Linked DNA regions of Homo sapiens: regions 2, 3, 4 and 5 are each linked to region 1. The links are contacts of gene promoters, found by promoter capture Hi-C in blood cells and fetal thymus (Javierre and others, 2016). All regions are on one chromosome and are shown on one strand. The core of a region is centred on a gene start or on the middle of the fragment in contact, and the rest is flanking DNA. Distances in the headings are between cores, read along the strand shown. Region 1 holds the start of USP1 (ubiquitin specific peptidase 1). Region 2 holds the start of CTH (cystathionine gamma-lyase). Region 3 overlaps ANKRD13C (ankyrin repeat domain 13C). Region 4 holds the start of USP24 (ubiquitin specific peptidase 24). Region 5 has its middle 1.6 kb from the start of GADD45A.

Region 1 (3,252 bases), core at 365-2,864:
ATCTAACGACTCCCATCTCCTTACTCGGCTTACCCAGGGTCCTGCCTTTCTCACTCATCTCATCTCCTCCCATCTTATTTCCCAAATTGACTGCGCTCTAAGCGCCCTGGCCTCCTTGCTTCTTTTCAAAACACCAACCACATTAAGCTTCAGGACGTTTGTAACTTGCTGTTCTCTCTGCCCGCACCATTCTTCCCTCAGATTCCTCCAAGCTTTTTCATTCAGCTCTGCTCAAATGTCAACTCAAAGAGGTCTTTCCAGGCTATCGTATCTATCACTTATCTTAGCGTCACTTGTATCTCCCTCTCCAGAATGTAATGCTCCTTTATGACAGGGAATGCCTTTACATCCCTCGCGCCTTGAAAAATGCCTGGCACATAGTAGGCACCTTAAAAATACTTGATTAAATGGATTTGGGCTGAACGTATCCTGCTTAACTGCAGCACTTGAGCTGAGGTCACCTCACCAAAGCAGGCACACAAACACAAAAGGAAGCACACAACCAGATGAGGCCTGCCTGCCGCTCCTGAACCCTTTGGGAGGGCTCGCGCGGGAACCCTGGGAAGCTCCCGCGGCCGGAGCTGGGCCTGAAACTGTTCTTTCGTTTCCTCCTGCGGCCGAGAAAGGGAAGAGGTAAACAGGCGAAAATGAGGCGAGCAGGGGCTGAGGACCGGGCCTCAGCTCTACAGCATTCGCCTGAGCATGTATTGTTATCCGTGGCAGCGCCTTGTCTCATTGGATGGCCCTAGGCCTAGTGTGGCCGCGACTCCGAACTGAAAGCCCAAGCGCGGCGGCGTCCAGCCGGGCAGCCATTTTCCGAAGCTGCTCTCTTGGTAACCCCGCCCGGGCGCGTACGCACGAACGGAGGCGGGGCTTACCGCGAGGGCCTCGCTCCGGAAGCCGCACCCTCCGCGGCGTCCCACCGTCGAGGATTAACAAAACGCCAAACAAGATTTTAACAGTCGGCAGCGAAAGCGCGCACTCGAGCGCCAATGAGAGCGGAAGGAGGGGCACCGCGCCTGAGGAACACTCCGTATGTCGAACAATGATTGGCTGGAGCCCACCTTTCTTCTTTTTTGCTATTAGATGGGCTTGCTGCTCCCGCCCATCTAATTGGCTTTGGTCTAGGTACTTCTGATTGGCTTCCCCCGGGCGGTGGGAGGCGCGGTTTTGGGGATTGTTCATCATGGATTGGTGAATTTGGGCTCCTTCTCGAGGTGGTGGCCCATCCCGTCTGCTCTCTGTCCCGTCTCCCGACCCGTACGCTTTTCCCTCAACTCGCGCGCACGAATGGTTAAAAAAAGGGTGTGAGGCTCGAGCCCGCCAGCCAGGCCGCTAGCACCTCGCGCGCGCCCTCAGCGAGGACCCGCACGAGCTGCCCGGCTCTGTGCCTGCGTTGTTTGAAACTGTGGAACCCGTTAGGCTTTTGGGGAACTACAGTCCCAGCTGGCTCCGGAGCCCGTGCGTGCCAGGGGCGAGTGGCCGTCGCGAGACGGCTCCTGCCTTTCGTGTCTCTGCAGCGTGGAGACTGGAACCGGCAATTTCAAAGGACGCCACGTTCAATCGCAGCGCTGGCGCGGGCGGAGGCTAAAACACGGGGGTCCTGAGACTGAGGAAAACGCGCCAAGTTCCCCTCGGTGGCGGAGTGCTAAAGACCCTAGCGGTTCAGGCGTTCGGCGAGCGGGGCCGCTGCTTGTTGCGCTCCTGGCTCTCCCGGGGCGGGCGCAGATGGGCGCCGCTCCCGGGATGTAGTTGGTGTTGGTGCAAGACGGGAGCGAGCGGCGGTCGGGGTTCCCGCTCTTGGGAGCGGATGGTCACTCCCCCGCGGGGAGGGCGAGCCGACCAGATTTTCCTGGGGCCGGGGACCCGGCGGGCTCGGGGCAGGGACTCACCTGTCGCACCCACACTCATTCGGGTTGGACTTGCCGGCGTCACCGCCGCGGACTTCGCTTTGGGCCATGACCAGGTAAGGAGGGCCTGGGAGGAGGGGCCGGCTCCCGGGCGCGGGGGCAAGTTCGGCCGGCGCGGGAGAGGAGCTGCCGGGGAGACCCCGGGACCGTGTTGGCCTCGCACCCTGGTCGACCTGCCAGGGGGAGCCGTGTGTGCCTCGGGCGTGGCGCCTGTCTTGCCGCCGCCGGGACGCGAGAAGGCAGGTGCGGGCTGGGCGTAAATAGGCCAACTCCGCGGCGAGGGCGCCCGGCGCGGGGGTGTGGGCCGAGGACGCCGCCGCCAGCCTCCCCCGACCGGGCAGCCTGGTCGCTGCTCGTCCTTCCAGCTTTCTTTCCGTTCCCGAGAGCGGTGAAGGATGGGGAGAAAGAAACGTTTCCACGCAGGTTGCCCTGTGTCGGTAATTGCGAAATTTTACCGCGCATTTTCTTTCACTTACACTTTTTCAAGAAGTGTTTAGAACGCCGCGTGTCTTAAACCTTGGCGAAGATGTCCTTGTAGATTTTTGTTGAAAAATCGGAATCGAGTCGTGTCATCTTATAAAGAATTTAAAACTATTGGGACTGAGTGTTCACGCTGTCAACAGATAATGGTCGATTCGTCGTGCTTTCTGCGAAAGTTGATTTAGTTACAGGAGAAATATTTTGGATGTAACAGCCCCCCAGTTACAAGGAAAGCCAGGAGCAAGAAATAGCAAGGAAGATACTGCACCTGGCAAAATGTTACATTCTCGGTGTGAGCTTTGCTTTGAGGGGCTAGGAGGTTTGGTTTTTTGATTAAGCTGACGATCCGCTATTTCACCTGCCTAATCATTCTTCCCTTCTGTGTAGTCTGGTTACTCTGTCGGTTTGAGATCCAGTTTCTGTCATCCATTAAATTGGCTCTCGAGAAAAACCTTTTATCAGAATCATTAATGCTTGGCGATCCCTGAGAACTTAGCGCAGGTTGGTTTATCATTCAGAAGACAGCGCTTCCTCAGAAGCATTAGGTAGACAGGAGAGTAAGTGAAGTTGGAGACAGAATGGAGAGATGGATCAGCTTTCCAGTGCTTCCTGATTTGGGTCTCAGAAATGGTTTCAGTGTGCTGAGTTCAGTATGAATTCCTAGATCAGTGTCAGCCATGTGAAATGCTTATTAAGGATGAAATTTGAGTGAGTCTTGTGTAGTTCATTTTATTACTCTGCATTTTAAATTTGAAACTCGTTGCTGAAGTTTTGGGCTTTAAGTAATTTTATGGTAATACTCTAGTCAGATAATTTTTCCTCCCATGTCCTGAAAAATAGGCCTGATGTAGAAAATATTAAC
Region 2 (3,252 bases), core at 753-3,252, 8.0 Mb after region 1:
GTACACATATTAAGAATATATCTAAAGGATAAATTCCTGCAAGTAAAATTTTCTACAAAAGAAATTGCTGAGTCATAGAAAGGGGATATTTTAAATCCTTGATACATATTAAGCTGCATCCAATAAAGTTTTCTCAGTTTAAGAGAGTAAAAAAGGCCTGATTTATAGCATTTGTATTGGGTGCTATCTTTTTTTTTTTTTTTTTTGAGATGGAGTCTCACTCTGTGGCCCAGGCTGTAGTGCAGTGACATGATCTCGGCTCACTGCAACCTCCGCCTCCTGGGTTCAAGCGATTCTCCTGTCTCAGGCTCCCAAGGAGCTGGGATTACAGGTGTGCACCACTACGCCCAGCTAAGTTTTGTGTTTTTTGTAGAGATGGGGTTTCACCCTGCTGGCCAGGCTGGTCTCGAACTCTTGACTTCAGGTGATTCGCCCACCTCGGCCTCCCAAAGTGCTGGGATTAATAGGCGTTAGCCAATGCACCCAGCCTAGTGCTGTCTTCTGAATGATTCTTTATTACAGTACACTAAATAAAATGTCTGTATTTATGCAACTCAGGGTTTGTCAGCAAATATTAGGAGGTAAAACTAATTGGAACTGTTTTAGACCCTTTTGGCCCCTAAATGCCATATCATATTACACAAAAATACCCACCTATAGTTATACATAAATATTGAGGTGAGTTGCAGTTGATGTTATATTTTTAAAAGAAAAATATTAATTAAATATGTATTAATATACATTAGTGTTTTGAAGTCTATCCATTTTTTCCCCCAGCCATACAAAGTTTGGTAGGATTCTAAAAGCTTGTAGGCCCTCAAGCACCACTCCTCTAGTGCTTAATGGGTTAAATGTCCCTAAAGCTAATTTGAAAAGCAAATTGCCTCATTCTTTCTCTTCATATCTTTCTTTCAAACTGTAAATTTTAAGAGCTGTTTATTCCTTATTCTCCTTGTTCTTAATTTGTTTAATAAAGTTTTAGATCTTTAGCGAATATTTTGCAACAACAGAAATATCCCCAAATTTCCTGGTGCTAGAAAACAGCCACAATAGTAAGTAGGTCAAGTCTGTATTGCTTAGGGAACAGGGAGATTTTTGTTTTAAAGCAGTGATTCTTCTGAGAGTAGGGCTCTGGGCGCAGGTGAGTGGTAAACAATCCTTTTTCCTGCAGGGATGTTGCTGTTGTGTAAAAGCAAAAGCATTTTGTGTAAGGATGTTAGGCTCCAGTAAGTATTTCAAAGCCACATTATCTTTCTCATTAGGGGGAGTTTCTCTCTGTACTTTAAAAGAAGATAATGATGCTTGAAAAAGCTCAAGATTGACTAACTTTTAGGAAGCTGCCAGAGTTGTGCATAGACGTCCTCACTACAGTAGCTTCGTTATGTCTTACGAACAATTTAACCTTCACTTCTAGTCATCGTTTCGTCATCGTAAGCACTGGGTCATTACAGAGTTCAGTGTACCTAAAACGCAAGCTGTGACTGATGAGAATCCAAGCTGCAAACTGGGCGGCTTGGGCAACTGTTTTCTTAACCACCCTCCACGTTGTGGCTTACGTCTTTTAGCACCGCCCTCAGGGCAAAGGATGGTGGTCAGAGGTAACTACCACAGTAAAAGAAGGCTATTTATGTGGTCTGTTTACAGTTACCCGGTTTCAACACTAAGCCAGCTTTCCGCCACGTCTCGGGCGAACCTCCGGCCTGAGGTCACAGAGACGCCCGGGTGGCTCTCAGGAGCCAGCATGGCAGCCTCCTCAGGACGGGTACTCAGGAATTTCGCCCGCAGGGACTAACACCACTTGGACCCAGGGACTCCAGCTTCACTCCGCTTTGTGCACTGGGTGGGGCGGTCGCGGTGACGTTTCAGGCAACGCCTCTGCTGTCAGCCAATAAGGAGCGGGAGACGCGTCGGGCCTGCGCTCAATGGGCCGCGCTGGTCCCGCCCCACTGTGATCGTGAGACTGCAGACCCGCTAATAAAATCCACCCCAACAATCGCTGTGTGCCGCTTTAGTGCGCTCGCCGTCGGCTCTACCTGCGTGCTTTAGCTCCTTCTCGCCTGATCCTTCTGTCTCTCCCAACCCCGGACACCCGGCTTCGACTGGTTATATCTTCGGTGTTCTTTTCCTCTCTTCTTCTTTCGCGGTTCAGCATGCAGGAAAAAGACGCCTCCTCACAAGGTTTCCTGCCACACTTCCAACATTTCGCCACGCAGGCGATCCATGTGGGCCAGGATCCAGAGCAATGGACCTCCAGGGCTGTAGTGCCCCCCATCTCACTGTCCACCACGTTCAAGCAAGGGGCGCCTGGCCAGCACTCGGTGAGCTGGGTCTGTCTGGGGCTGTCCACAGTTGGGCGGTAAAAGAGATACGGCTTATGAATTTGAAAGGCATGTAAGTAATTTATAATATGACTTATAAATTAGGAAGGCAACCGAAAGATGTTTCTACACTGTAATTCTTGCAGCACAGCTTTGTATCGGATGGTCCAGTGATCGTATTTCTTTTGATAAGCAGGACTGGAAGGAGCCGTTTGTCCAGCTTGCCATTTAGATTTGGCCTGAAATTCAGGTGATTTTGACAAATTTGCAATTAAAAATCGAAGGTCATAACTTTTTTGAGTTACCTTTAGCAGCATAAATTTTAAAGATGTAGTACGGAGTCAGCTTAAAAAATATTAAGGGTCTGATAACTTGACTAGAATTAAGATTGTTTCCAGTAGCTGTATGAATAGTTATTGAGTACCTACTATATGCCAAATACGTGCTCGTATATATCATGTGTATTACATGTATTGTCTCATCTAATCCTAACAACAACCCTAGTCTGAACCGAATTCTCATTTTTTCCCAATAAAGAAGCTGAGATTTAGGGAGTTAAGTAACTAGCCTTAGACTAGTAAGTATTGGAGATGGAATTCAAACTTTAGAAACTTGAGGTTGCTTTAGGAACCAACTCCTAGGCACTCAGCTACACTATGCTATCTCTAATAATGCTAGTAACAATTTAGCCTATTGCGTCATTTAAGCACTGTGGCTTAGTGATTAAGAACACAACTCATGACCGGGTGCAGTGGCTTACGCCTGTAATCCCAGCACTTTGGGAGGCTGAGGCGGGTGGATCACCTGAGGACAGGAGTTCGAGCCCAGCCTGGCCAACATGGTGAAACCCCATCTCTACTAAAAATAAATAAATTAGCTGGGCATGGTGGCGGGTAATCTCAGCTACTCGGGAAGCTGAGGCAGGAGAATCGCT
Region 3 (3,252 bases), core at 387-2,886, 7.9 Mb after region 1:
TATGCATTTATGTTAAAGCAATCCAAAGAGAATATACATCATTTATTTATTTATTTTATTTTATTTATTTATTGAGACGGAGTCTCACTCTGTTACCCAGGCTGGAGTGCAACGGTGCGATCTTGGCTCACTGCAACCTCAGCCTCCCAGGTTCAAGCGATCCTCCTGCCTCAGCTTCCCAAATAGCTGGGATTACAAGCATGCACCACCATGCCAGGCTAATTTTCATATTTTCAGTAGAGACGGGGTTTCACTATGTTGGTCAGGCTGGTCTTGAACTCCTGACCTCAGGTAATCCACCCACCTCGGCCTCTCAAACTGCTGGGATTACAGGTGTGAGCCACCGCACCTGGCCAAGCTTGCTGTTGTTTAAGTGATTTTATAAGTATTTATCTTCTATAATTTTAAAGCAAAAATATCCTAAAAATCTAAAAGCATCCAGGTTAGTAAAATGTCAAGACTAAAAGTAATAATGTATCAGAAAAATCTATGAGGCTATGGGAGAAAAAATGACTAAATAAGAAGCACATTAAATTGAAGCCACAGTTCCTAGGACACCTCACTGTAGGAGATGAGCATGTACACATTGCAGGGGGGAAAGCAATTATATTTACCCCAGGTATGTGAACCACCGGTTACATTAATCAGAAACATCAATGATATAAGGTCAGCTAAACACAATAAAAACCTTCCTTTAAAAAAGTGAATTTCAAGGCCAGGCGCGGTGGCTCAGGCCTGTAATCCCAGCACTCTGGGAGGCCGAGGCGGGCAGATCACGAGGTCAGGAGATGGAGACCATCCCGGCTCACACAGTGAAACCCCGTCTCTACTAAAATTACAAAAAAATTAGCCTGGCGCGGTGGTGGGCGCCTGTACTACCAGCTACTCAGGAGGCTGAGGCAGGAGAATGGCGTGAACCCGGGAGGCGGAGCTTGCAGTGAGCGGAGATTGCACCACTGCACTCCAGCCTGGGCGACAGAGCAAGACTCCGTCTCAAAAAAAAAAAAAAAAAAAAAAAAGTTAATTTCAGTGGGCTAAGGACAAGAGTTTAAGAGTATACAGGATTCTAATTACTTTGAACAGAATTTGAACTTAAACAAATGTACTCCTAAATGTTGGGTTGAAGAAGACATGGAAGCCCAACAATCCTGTAATTCAATAGCTTCAGTGATATTCATCCATCTCTTCTTTCAAAGGGAGTTAACTCTCAAACCTTTTATCTGTTTCAGGGATATTTCAAGGTAATGTAACTATGGCTACTATGTAAACCAAATTTGAAAAACTTCCTCATAATAGACTAATAAACTGAAGCTACAACCCATCTCCCACTAACAACTGTTTTCCAAAGGGCTAGCATAGAATTACCATCATCAACAAACAACATTATCCTTGTACTATAATAGTAAAATGATTAAGTAATTTAAATGTAGGAAAGAAAAACTGGCTGCAACTTTAACATACTTTTTTGGGGATTTATGATAAATGATAGGTGGTGATTTTATTACAATTACAACATTGTAAATTCTGAAAACAAATGCAGTTGTTAGATAATTATACAGCCAAGAGAAATCTTACTCGTTTTTTTTATCTGAATTTTTGTCCTAAAAAGCCTACGATCCAATGGAATTAAGTGAGCTTATTTCACAGGCAAATATTTCATTGATACGTATATCATTTTGAGCACAAAGTTGGTTCAGTGTGTTCTAACTGAATGTATACAATTTTCATATTAATAGCAGAGCGATCAACAATATTTGCCAACTACCCAGTTTAAAACGGCTATTAAATGTTAAAATGTCAGTGTTCACATTAGTCTTCAATAATAAATTTACTGTTGCTTAAAAGTCAACTCAGTCACATTATTTTTTAGAATTAAACAAAAAATTCAGCTGACAAGGCAAAAAGAAATGGTCAATATTGACTAAGATAAAATTACCATAAAAATCATAATACTATTTTTAGTCACAGTCATCAAGATGAGACATTACTATTAGCAATTATCTACTTAAAACAAGCAAAAAATCAAATCTCTACTCAAACAAAAATCGGCTGTTGAGAAGTCACTTTAACTGTTCTACGTATCAAATACCAACAAATTTCTACTGTGTGGCTTTCAGAAATCTAACATTCTAAGTTTACTGAAAGCAGACAAAAAAGAAACAACCTGGTGGCAGGCAAAATCACAACCAGTTGCAGTCAAGATGGGATCTGTATGTGAGCAATGAAGGGAGGAGGGCAATTTATGCGTTCAAAATTTAAAATGCCAAGGTAGGGGGAAGAGAGAGAAATAAAGATATATAGCTCCATAAACAAAGGGAGAAAACCATGTTGGGTGGGAGGCAACCTAAAATTTCTGACAGTCCAGAATCAGCAAATCGAAGGCCTGTCTCAAACAAAACAGCTTCTCACGACAAACTTTGAAGTGGGCAAGGAGGATACATTCCTTTGCACCCACAAGAACCAACCCCTTGACCACTGGCACGCTATTACTGAGTCGATCATGATTTACCGAACGGCCCGGATGATGGGCAAAAAGAAGAGTCTGCTGGAGGGGGCCTAGGATTCCAGAAGCCTGGGGAGGCACACCCTAGGCTCGGGGAAGGAGAGAGGTGGAGAGGGGCTAGCACTCCTCACCGTGATTATCTTTCTGCCCGATATTGTGCGTGCGGATGAGAGAGGAGAGTCTCCTCACATCCCCCTTGAAGACGCACTCGTGCACCGGGTAGTGTGCGGGGCAACTGCCTCCATCCGCGACGACAGCAACGGGGTTGGTGCCGGCCAGAAGGGCCGGGGACTGGGAGTTGGCAGTCACGGAGGAATTGTGCAGCGGCAGAGCCGGGGCGCCGGGGGGATTGGAGGAGGCCGGAGCTGCCTTCAGCTGTAGCCGGTGGTGATGGTTACTGAAGATCTTATGACAAGCTTTGCCGCCCTTGCCAATCCTGCTTCTGGTAAAGGTACCGCCGAGGGCAGCCGCCGCTTCCTCATCCCCGGGCTCCAGCAGGTCCCCTTCTTCTTTGCTGGGCTTGTGGTCCCTCCGCAGTGAGCGGATCTTCTCCCCGGTCATCGCCGCCGCCAGGGGCAAGGGGGGGAATCGGGAGGCTCACCGCTGGCGACGGAGCTGGCGCTGCGGCGGCACAAGGCGATTAGAGCGGTGGCCAAGAGCCTCCAGCGCAGCATGAACTCCCACTGAGCCCCCGAGCCTGGGACAAACGCATCTCCCGGGGAAGAGCCGGCTCTCGCCTAGGCACGAAG
Region 4 (3,252 bases), core at 265-2,764, 7.2 Mb before region 1:
AAAGCCATTAGCCTCAAGACTCCTCCTCCACCCCCACTGCGCTCCCACCCTGTTCCGCGCCCCTCTGCATAGCACCCTCAGTATGACTACCATCTCTTTCCCCGGTCTAATTTTCTCTCATTTCTGACCTTATCGATGACCAGTACTCCCTCTTTACCCAGACCTGGTGCCAGCTCTATCTTCCAATTCCAGTCCCCATCCCTGCCTAGACCCTCCTCAGCTCCCACCCCTGCCCAGGCCTCCCACCTCTGCCCTCTCAGTGCAATCCCCACTGCTCTCATACCTGATTTTATTCAAGTCCTCATTCCTGGCCGCGGCCCCTTCCCTCTTCATTTTAAATCCTACTCAATGCCCCCCCTTTCCGACCCTTGGCTAAAACCCCAACCTCACTCCTAACCCCAACAGTTTTCCTGTGATCCTGTCAAAGACCACTACTCTGGCCGGCCCACACCGCTTTTTCTGACTCTGAGCCTGGTGCCTCCGCCAATCCTTCACTGAAACCTCGTGCCACAAAATCTCCGACCTAGCCTAGTGCACTAGTACCCCATTTCCGACCCCCTACTGCACGCATCCTTCCCACTATATGCTCAAGTGTCTGTCCTCCCATCTCGGATGATAGCCCTGGAGCCTCCTCCCCATCGTCGGCGTGCATAGCCGGAAGCCTAAGGGACCCCTCCTCACCCCAACCCACAGCTCCGCTGCGCATCCCTAATTCCCTTTCACACGCCTCTCCTATGGGTCCCTCTCCCCACTTACCCCCAATCAAGTGACTTCGGTTCCCAACTGGAGCCTGGGGCTTCTCTCTCTCTCTCCGCCCCGCCCCCACTAAAGCCCCAGTCGAATGCCCTCTCTCCCCACACCAAGCCCAGCGGGGTGTGTCCCCTCCCAGGAACTCCAGCCCAGTGGCTTCCCACAGAGGTCTGGGGTTGCCCCTCCTCACCTCCGCGTCCACCACCTCGTGGTAGGCGGGCGGGGGGTCGAAGCCGCCCCCGCCTCCGGTGCTCCCGCCGCGGGAGGGGCCGCCGCCGCCGCCGTCACCTCCGCCGTCGCCCCGCGGGCCCCCGCCGGGCCCGGGGCTGGGGCCACCGCCGCTGTCCATGGGCTCGTAGCCGCCGTAGTCGAGGCCCGGCCGCTCGTTGGTGAGCAGTGCCACGGCCTCGTTAATGTCGTTCTTGGCCAGGCGCAGGGCCTTGCGGATGGTGGCGGGGTCTGAGAAGCCCATGCACAGCAGCGTGGTCATGTGCTGCTCCTCCTCCGATTCCATGGCTTGGGCCTCCTGGCCGCCCCGGCCAGCGCACGGCGAAGCTACGGGTCCCGGGCCTGGCGGGCCGCGCGGCGCACCCTCCGCGCCGCCTCCGCGCCCAGGTTGGCCCCTGCGTTCCTGCCCCGGGTGCTCCGCAGCAGCCGGGCCAGGCTGGGTGCGGGCTTGGGTCCTGCGAGCCGAGCTAGTGCGGTGAGGCGCTCAGGCGCGGCTGCGGCCCGGCCCAGCCCTGCGCGCCGCCATGTTGGCCTCCTCCCCCTCCGCCTCCTCCTCCCCGGGCGGCGGGGCCGCGCCTCGGCTCCCGGAAGCGGCACGGGAGGCGACCGTGCTCGCCGTTGGCAGGCTAGGGTTGGCGGCGGCGTATTCTGTTTGTTTTAAACGAAGGAGCGGAGGGAGGGGCCGCGCCGCGGAGCGTGCCTAAGGTGAAAGGGCTGCCGTGCAGCCAGGCAGAGGCGAGGAAGGCTTCTCCATCGTCGCCACCGCCCGCCTGTTTCGCCGGCAACAGGTTCCCCCGGGACGGGAGGGGCCGCAGCGCCGCGCAGCTCGCAGCGCTGAACGTCGCGGAAATCCCTTGGCCGGCCGAGCCTCCGCAGCCGCGACCCGGCTTCTCTCCGTCCGAGTCCCCCGAGCCTCTCCGAACCCCCGTTGGACTTCCCCTCCCTGGCCGGCGCCGCCCGACCCGCTCCCCCATCCTAGAGGGAATTCCCTGCGCCGCGGCTGTGAGGCACCTCCACCCCGGCCTGAAATGCACCGCAGTCCTGAAGGAAATCCACCCTCATCCCACGCAGATTCACCCGCAACGCTGCCTGAATACGCCTCGCTGCCCACAGAAATTCCTGCCCAAACCAGACGCGTGGACCACCCAAGACGAAATTCACACTCGACCCTAGCCCCGCCAGCCCTTGCCGAAATCACCCTAAACCCGTTGAAATTAATTCCCAGCTGTCCGAATTTTCCTTCCAACATTAACTGACTACCTGTCTCCGCCAAGCTGACTGAACTCTACCGAACTCTTACCCTGAAAGCCCCTGAGAGTCCAAAATATATTTTTCCAGCCCGAAATCTAAATCCCAGTTCTCTGTATGAAAACCTCCAGAAACCCAGACTCTTACTTCCTTCGGCCACGGACTCGTTCGAACATCGTGGACATCACCTTCCCACATTTTTACCGCAGTCTTTGGCTCCGATTCTTTGTCCCTGCCTCTTGGGCAGCATCCTATCCCTGTTTCTTTCCACCTTTGAGGATTCCTCTACCTCTTTAAAGGCCTGCTTTCTTTGCTTTCTCTTCTCACCTTTGGCATTGGCACACTGGGGTCATATCTTTAGTTCCCTTGACTCCACCATCTAAGCCAAGGGTGTCCAATCTTTTGGCTTCCCTGGGCTACATTGGAAGGAGAAAAATTGTCTTGGACCACATATAAAATATTCTAACGCTAATGGTAGCTGATGAAACTTTTAAAAAATCTCATCATGTTTTAAGAAGTTTACGAATTTGTGCTGAGCCGCATTCAAAGCCGTCCTGGGCCTAAGTCCTTGCTATTTTTCCTCTTCAATTTCCTTCAATCCATAGTTCTCTAGGTTATTTTCCCACCCTTTCCCAAGATTCGGATATCCCTTCATTCTTGCTGAGTTCATCTCCTATGCCTATTCCTACATACTTGCTGAGTTCATCTTCTAATGTCCTCATCCTGGTTTCTTCCTGAACCTGAAATCCAGCTAACCTTACTTTTTCATCCCATCAAACCCCTGCTGTTGCCAGCCCAGCACTCACGAAGATCTTTACATACACCAAATATTAAATTAGGGCCGGTACCTAGACATTGTCTCTGCACTCTGCTGGCATATTTTCCCCTGGACCACGAACCCTTCGTACCTAGTAACTTGCCACCTGTGTTTATAAATACCAGCAATTTGATTTACAGGGTGAATTTGTCACTATTGTTTACTTTTAAATGAAGTTACTGTATTTGTTGTTTCCATTAAAGGCGACA
Region 5 (3,252 bases), core at 353-2,852, 5.2 Mb after region 1:
TTGGCCAGGCTGGTTTTGAACTCCTGACCTCAGGTGATCCGACCTCCTCAGCCTCTCAAAGTGCTGGGATTACAGGCGTGAGCTACTGCACCTGACCAGGAACCTTATGATTTTTAACAAGAAAAAATAATACAATACAATTCTAGGTAGGTGGAAAATACATCCATCATAGTTGAACTGATCTTCTCCTTTGATGTGGACAATGATCTAATACTGAAATAACAAGCATTATATTTCTTTCAGATGTTAAAGCATTGATTGTTTTTTGAAAGAAAGAAAGAATAATTCTGCATTATGGAACCAGTAGTAGGAATGTATGTAGGATAAGCATGACTAAAATATCAAAAAGATCTTTAATATGCAAAGCAAGTAGCAGTGCTAAAATAATTGAACAATTCTTGAGTATATATTTCCATATGATTTCTAAATATAATCATTTGGTATCTTTACAAACATTACTACAAGAGCATTCTACTCCTGTGTACTTGGCAGTTGTCAGAGTTACCTGTAGTGGTTTTTAAAATGACATCACATATTGGAGTTATCACACTGATTATAAAGAAATATATATATATATATAATATTGATATAGGAAAATTTCTCTGATTTACCATTGACTATCAATGTCCTCCAGGACTAATAAACAGTTAATGATAAATCAACTATGTCCATTCTAATGTGTAACTACAATCTAACTGTGTAGCTAAATGCAGTTTTTACTTCCAGTCATGAGGCCCAACTTTGAAGATAATCACTGAGAAAACATTCTAGGTATACTCAGCAATCAGGCAAAATGATGTAACGTATCTGAGTCAGAAAGTATGACAAATGAATATTTTTGCATACTGGAAGCCCAAGCTTATCTCAGAGAAAATCCCCAAAATACTTGGGCAAATAACTTTCTGATGAAGTCAAATATAGCATGCAGTATAATTTTTGAGTGGAGGACTAAGCCTATAATAAGAAGTAACCATTTGATATCACATTTTTACTGGATATAGTCGACTTGGGTGGGGCACTTTAGGACTGTGGTTCATTTGAATTGGTGTAAACAATACACCGGTTCTACTGTCCTACAGCCTCCATTCAGATGACTGAAGTCATGGGACTTTCAGCATAGCTAGCTGATGACAGTGCATACTATTTTGTCCCAAAATCCAGTTCAAGCATGGACATACCAATAAGAGCCTAAGCTCTTTAAAGGCAAAGGACCAGGAATTGTACAGTTCTTGGTATAGAAGAAGACAGGCAAAAGTGTTTTTGAACTAACGTTAAATGTGCAATATGTTAGAATTCATGCAATGCACAGGACTGCAGGATTCTGATATCTTATTTAACTCTCAAATTCTATTCAACTCAATAAACCTTGACTGTGCTTCTACTAAATGCAGGTATTGTACTAGGAGCTGAGGACACCAAACTGATGAAGTCCTTGCTGTCAAGAAACTCACATGATTCCCTAATTCTTTGTCAGCTTGCTGTGATCACATTTTCTTCCCAAGAACCTCTAAGAAATGCCTAGTGGATAGAACCTTGGAGTTCCACGGAACATATTAACAATCGCCAAATGATGACTCAGGCTAGATTGTGTAATTCAGGTTTTGTCTGCAAAACTGAAAATGCTTCGGTAACCTACCTAAATTTCAATGTTGAGGAATTCTTTAAGAAAGACATCAAATGTTAAGATTTAAGGCATAGATATGAGATACATAGTCATGCTTAGGTGAATTATGCACTGACCATGACCATTTCTTTACTCAAATGTTGTCCATGGCTGACAACACAGTGAAAAAATGAGTGCAAAATGACAACTCAAATAAATGAACCAGAAAACCTATCACTTTTCTTTTCCACCAAATTAAGATCAAGAGAGCTGGAGAATATTTTGTCTAGAGTGATAAAAACATAAGGGTGCAAAACTTCCAGGTACCTTTGCAGAAATTACTTCTGTGACCTTTGGCTGTACAGCAACCTTAATAATGCAAGCACTGTTTTGAATGCAAGCATGTGGGAGCCATTTTCACCACTTTTGATGACTTCAGTAGGTTTAAGAAATGTTTTTGCTTTTATTGCATAAACCATAAAACAAAGGAAGGGACTTTTGAACTACTCAGTGAGAGTCTATATATTAAAGTTTGTTTTTCAAAAATGTGTAACTACCATTTGCAGTTTTAAAGGTCTGCTTTCCACCTACAAGTTGCCATTATCTCAAAGGTGAAATTTTAGCATATGACTAAAAACTTCCTATAGTTACAGCTTCATGATTCAGCATCTAACATCAATAATTCACAGTGAGATCATAGGAGGCTCTCTGTGGAAGGTAACGACATACATACGTTAGGAAAGGAAGCTTAGGGCATATCGAGAGCATTTTGAATTTAGACTTGTGGGCTGTGTGGGTGTCAGATGGTTGTCTCTCAGCTGGTGGGCGTCCAGAAGGATCCTTGTTTGGGCAAGGCTCTTTGAGAAAGGAGAATCTGGGTTGCCAGGGATTCCCACATGTGGTCACCAGCTCCCCACGCAGACCAGCTCACGATTTCCCAGTTACACCGGGCAGGTGGGAAACCGTTCTGCTTTCTGTGGAAAAGATTCTAACTTGGTTCCCTGCCATCCCTGAATACAAACGGGTTGGTTTTTCTTTTTTCAGCTTCCAACCCTTGCAGCTTTCCAAAAATAAATCAAACCAGCCATCAGGGCACCGAAATAATACTACTGCTAATAAGCAGCTTCGCCTAGACTTAGATAAACAACACTTCTGAGGTAAACTTTGCCCCGGAGGTCTGGAGACACTTTTTTAATGTAACCTGCTTACTAATAATTACTAGACTTCAGTGCATTAACCCTGGAAATAGATTTTAATAGCCACCCCTTAAAACAAAAGACATGAAAAGATAATAAGAAAAAAGTGCCGCAACTATTATAGAAAAACACTTGGCAGCCTGCTTCAGCCCAAGCTGAGGCCACCTCTAGCCTCTGCTAAAGCCCCCCACTCCCAATGGTCCCCGCCAACCGGATAAGAGTGCGCGCGGGACCCGCCTTCCCCTCTCGGCACCGCCCCCGCCCCCGCCCCCTCGGCTCGCCTCCCGCGTGGCTCCTCCCTTTTCCGCTCCTCTCAACCTGACTCCAGGAGCTGGGGTCAAATTGCTGGAGCAGGCTGATTTGCATAGCCCAATGGCCAAGCTGCATGCAAATGAGGCGGAAGGTGGTTGGCTGAGGGTTGGCAGGATAACCCCGGAGAGCGGGGCCCTTTGT

What was found. Contacts are between HindIII fragments. The CHiCAGO score rates a contact against its expected background, and 5 or more counts as called.
Region 2: a contact is called between the fragment with the promoter of CTH here and the fragment with the promoter of USP1 in region 1, in 3 of 17 cell types (naive CD8 T cells, activated CD4 T cells and total B cells). The highest score is 13.1, in naive CD8 T cells.
Region 3: a fragment that was not itself captured here is called in contact with the fragment with the promoter of USP1 in region 1 in 4 of 17 cell types (non-activated CD4 T cells, total B cells, total CD8 T cells and 1 more); the score reaches 7.9 in non-activated CD4 T cells.
Region 4: a contact is called between the fragment with the promoter of USP24 here and the fragment with the promoter of USP1 in region 1, in 1 of 17 cell types (non-activated CD4 T cells). The highest score is 5.6, in non-activated CD4 T cells.
Region 5: a contact is called between a fragment that was not itself captured here and the fragment with the promoter of USP1 in region 1, in 5 of 17 cell types (fetal thymus, activated CD4 T cells, non-activated CD4 T cells and 2 more). The highest score is 13.3, in fetal thymus.

The regions. Positions count from the first base shown.
Region 1 is chr1:62,435,435-62,438,686 of GRCh38, forward strand. USP1 (ubiquitin specific peptidase 1) reads left to right here and starts at 1,615. Exons shown (of 9, transcript NM_003368.5): 1 at 1,615-1,966. RefSeq lists enhancers at 82-849, 532-881, 850-1,617, 1,442-1,511 and a silencer at 2,212-2,271. The HindIII fragment of the contact is 3,360 bases long and covers 211-3,252 here.
Region 2 is chr1:70,409,266-70,412,517 of GRCh38, forward strand. CTH (cystathionine gamma-lyase) reads left to right here and starts at 2,003. Exons shown (of 12, transcript NM_001902.6): 1 at 2,003-2,318. The coding sequence starts at 2,151. RefSeq lists an enhancer at 1,574-1,833 and a silencer at 1,894-2,043. The HindIII fragment of the contact is 3,560 bases long and covers 805-3,252 here.
Region 3 is chr1:70,351,345-70,354,596 of GRCh38, forward strand. It overlaps ANKRD13C (ankyrin repeat domain 13C), which reads right to left. Exons shown (of 13, transcript NM_030816.5): 1 at 2,635-3,252. The coding sequence starts at 3,064. Among named protein-coding and RNA genes, the nearest start is that of ANKRD13C, 1.8 kb to the right of the region's middle. RefSeq lists enhancers at 1,785-2,984, 2,244-3,162, 3,118-3,167, 3,163-3,252, 3,208-3,252. The HindIII fragment of the contact is 2,561 bases long and covers 357-2,917 here.
Region 4 is chr1:55,213,850-55,217,101 of GRCh38, forward strand. USP24 (ubiquitin specific peptidase 24) reads right to left here and starts at 1,515. Exons shown (of 68, transcript NM_015306.3): 1 at 941-1,515. The coding sequence starts at 1,264. LOC100507634 (a long non-coding RNA gene) reads left to right here and starts at 1,559. Exons shown (of 1, transcript NR_038320.1): 1 at 1,559-3,252. RefSeq lists an enhancer at 403-462 and silencers at 923-1,112, 1,183-1,692. The HindIII fragment of the contact is 9,819 bases long and covers 1-3,252 here.
Region 5 is chr1:67,681,944-67,685,195 of GRCh38, forward strand. No RefSeq gene overlaps it. Among named protein-coding and RNA genes, the nearest start is that of GADD45A, 1.6 kb to the right of the region's middle. RefSeq lists a cis regulatory region at 667-1,159 and silencers at 2,922-3,101, 3,112-3,171. The HindIII fragment of the contact is 1,492 bases long and covers 857-2,348 here.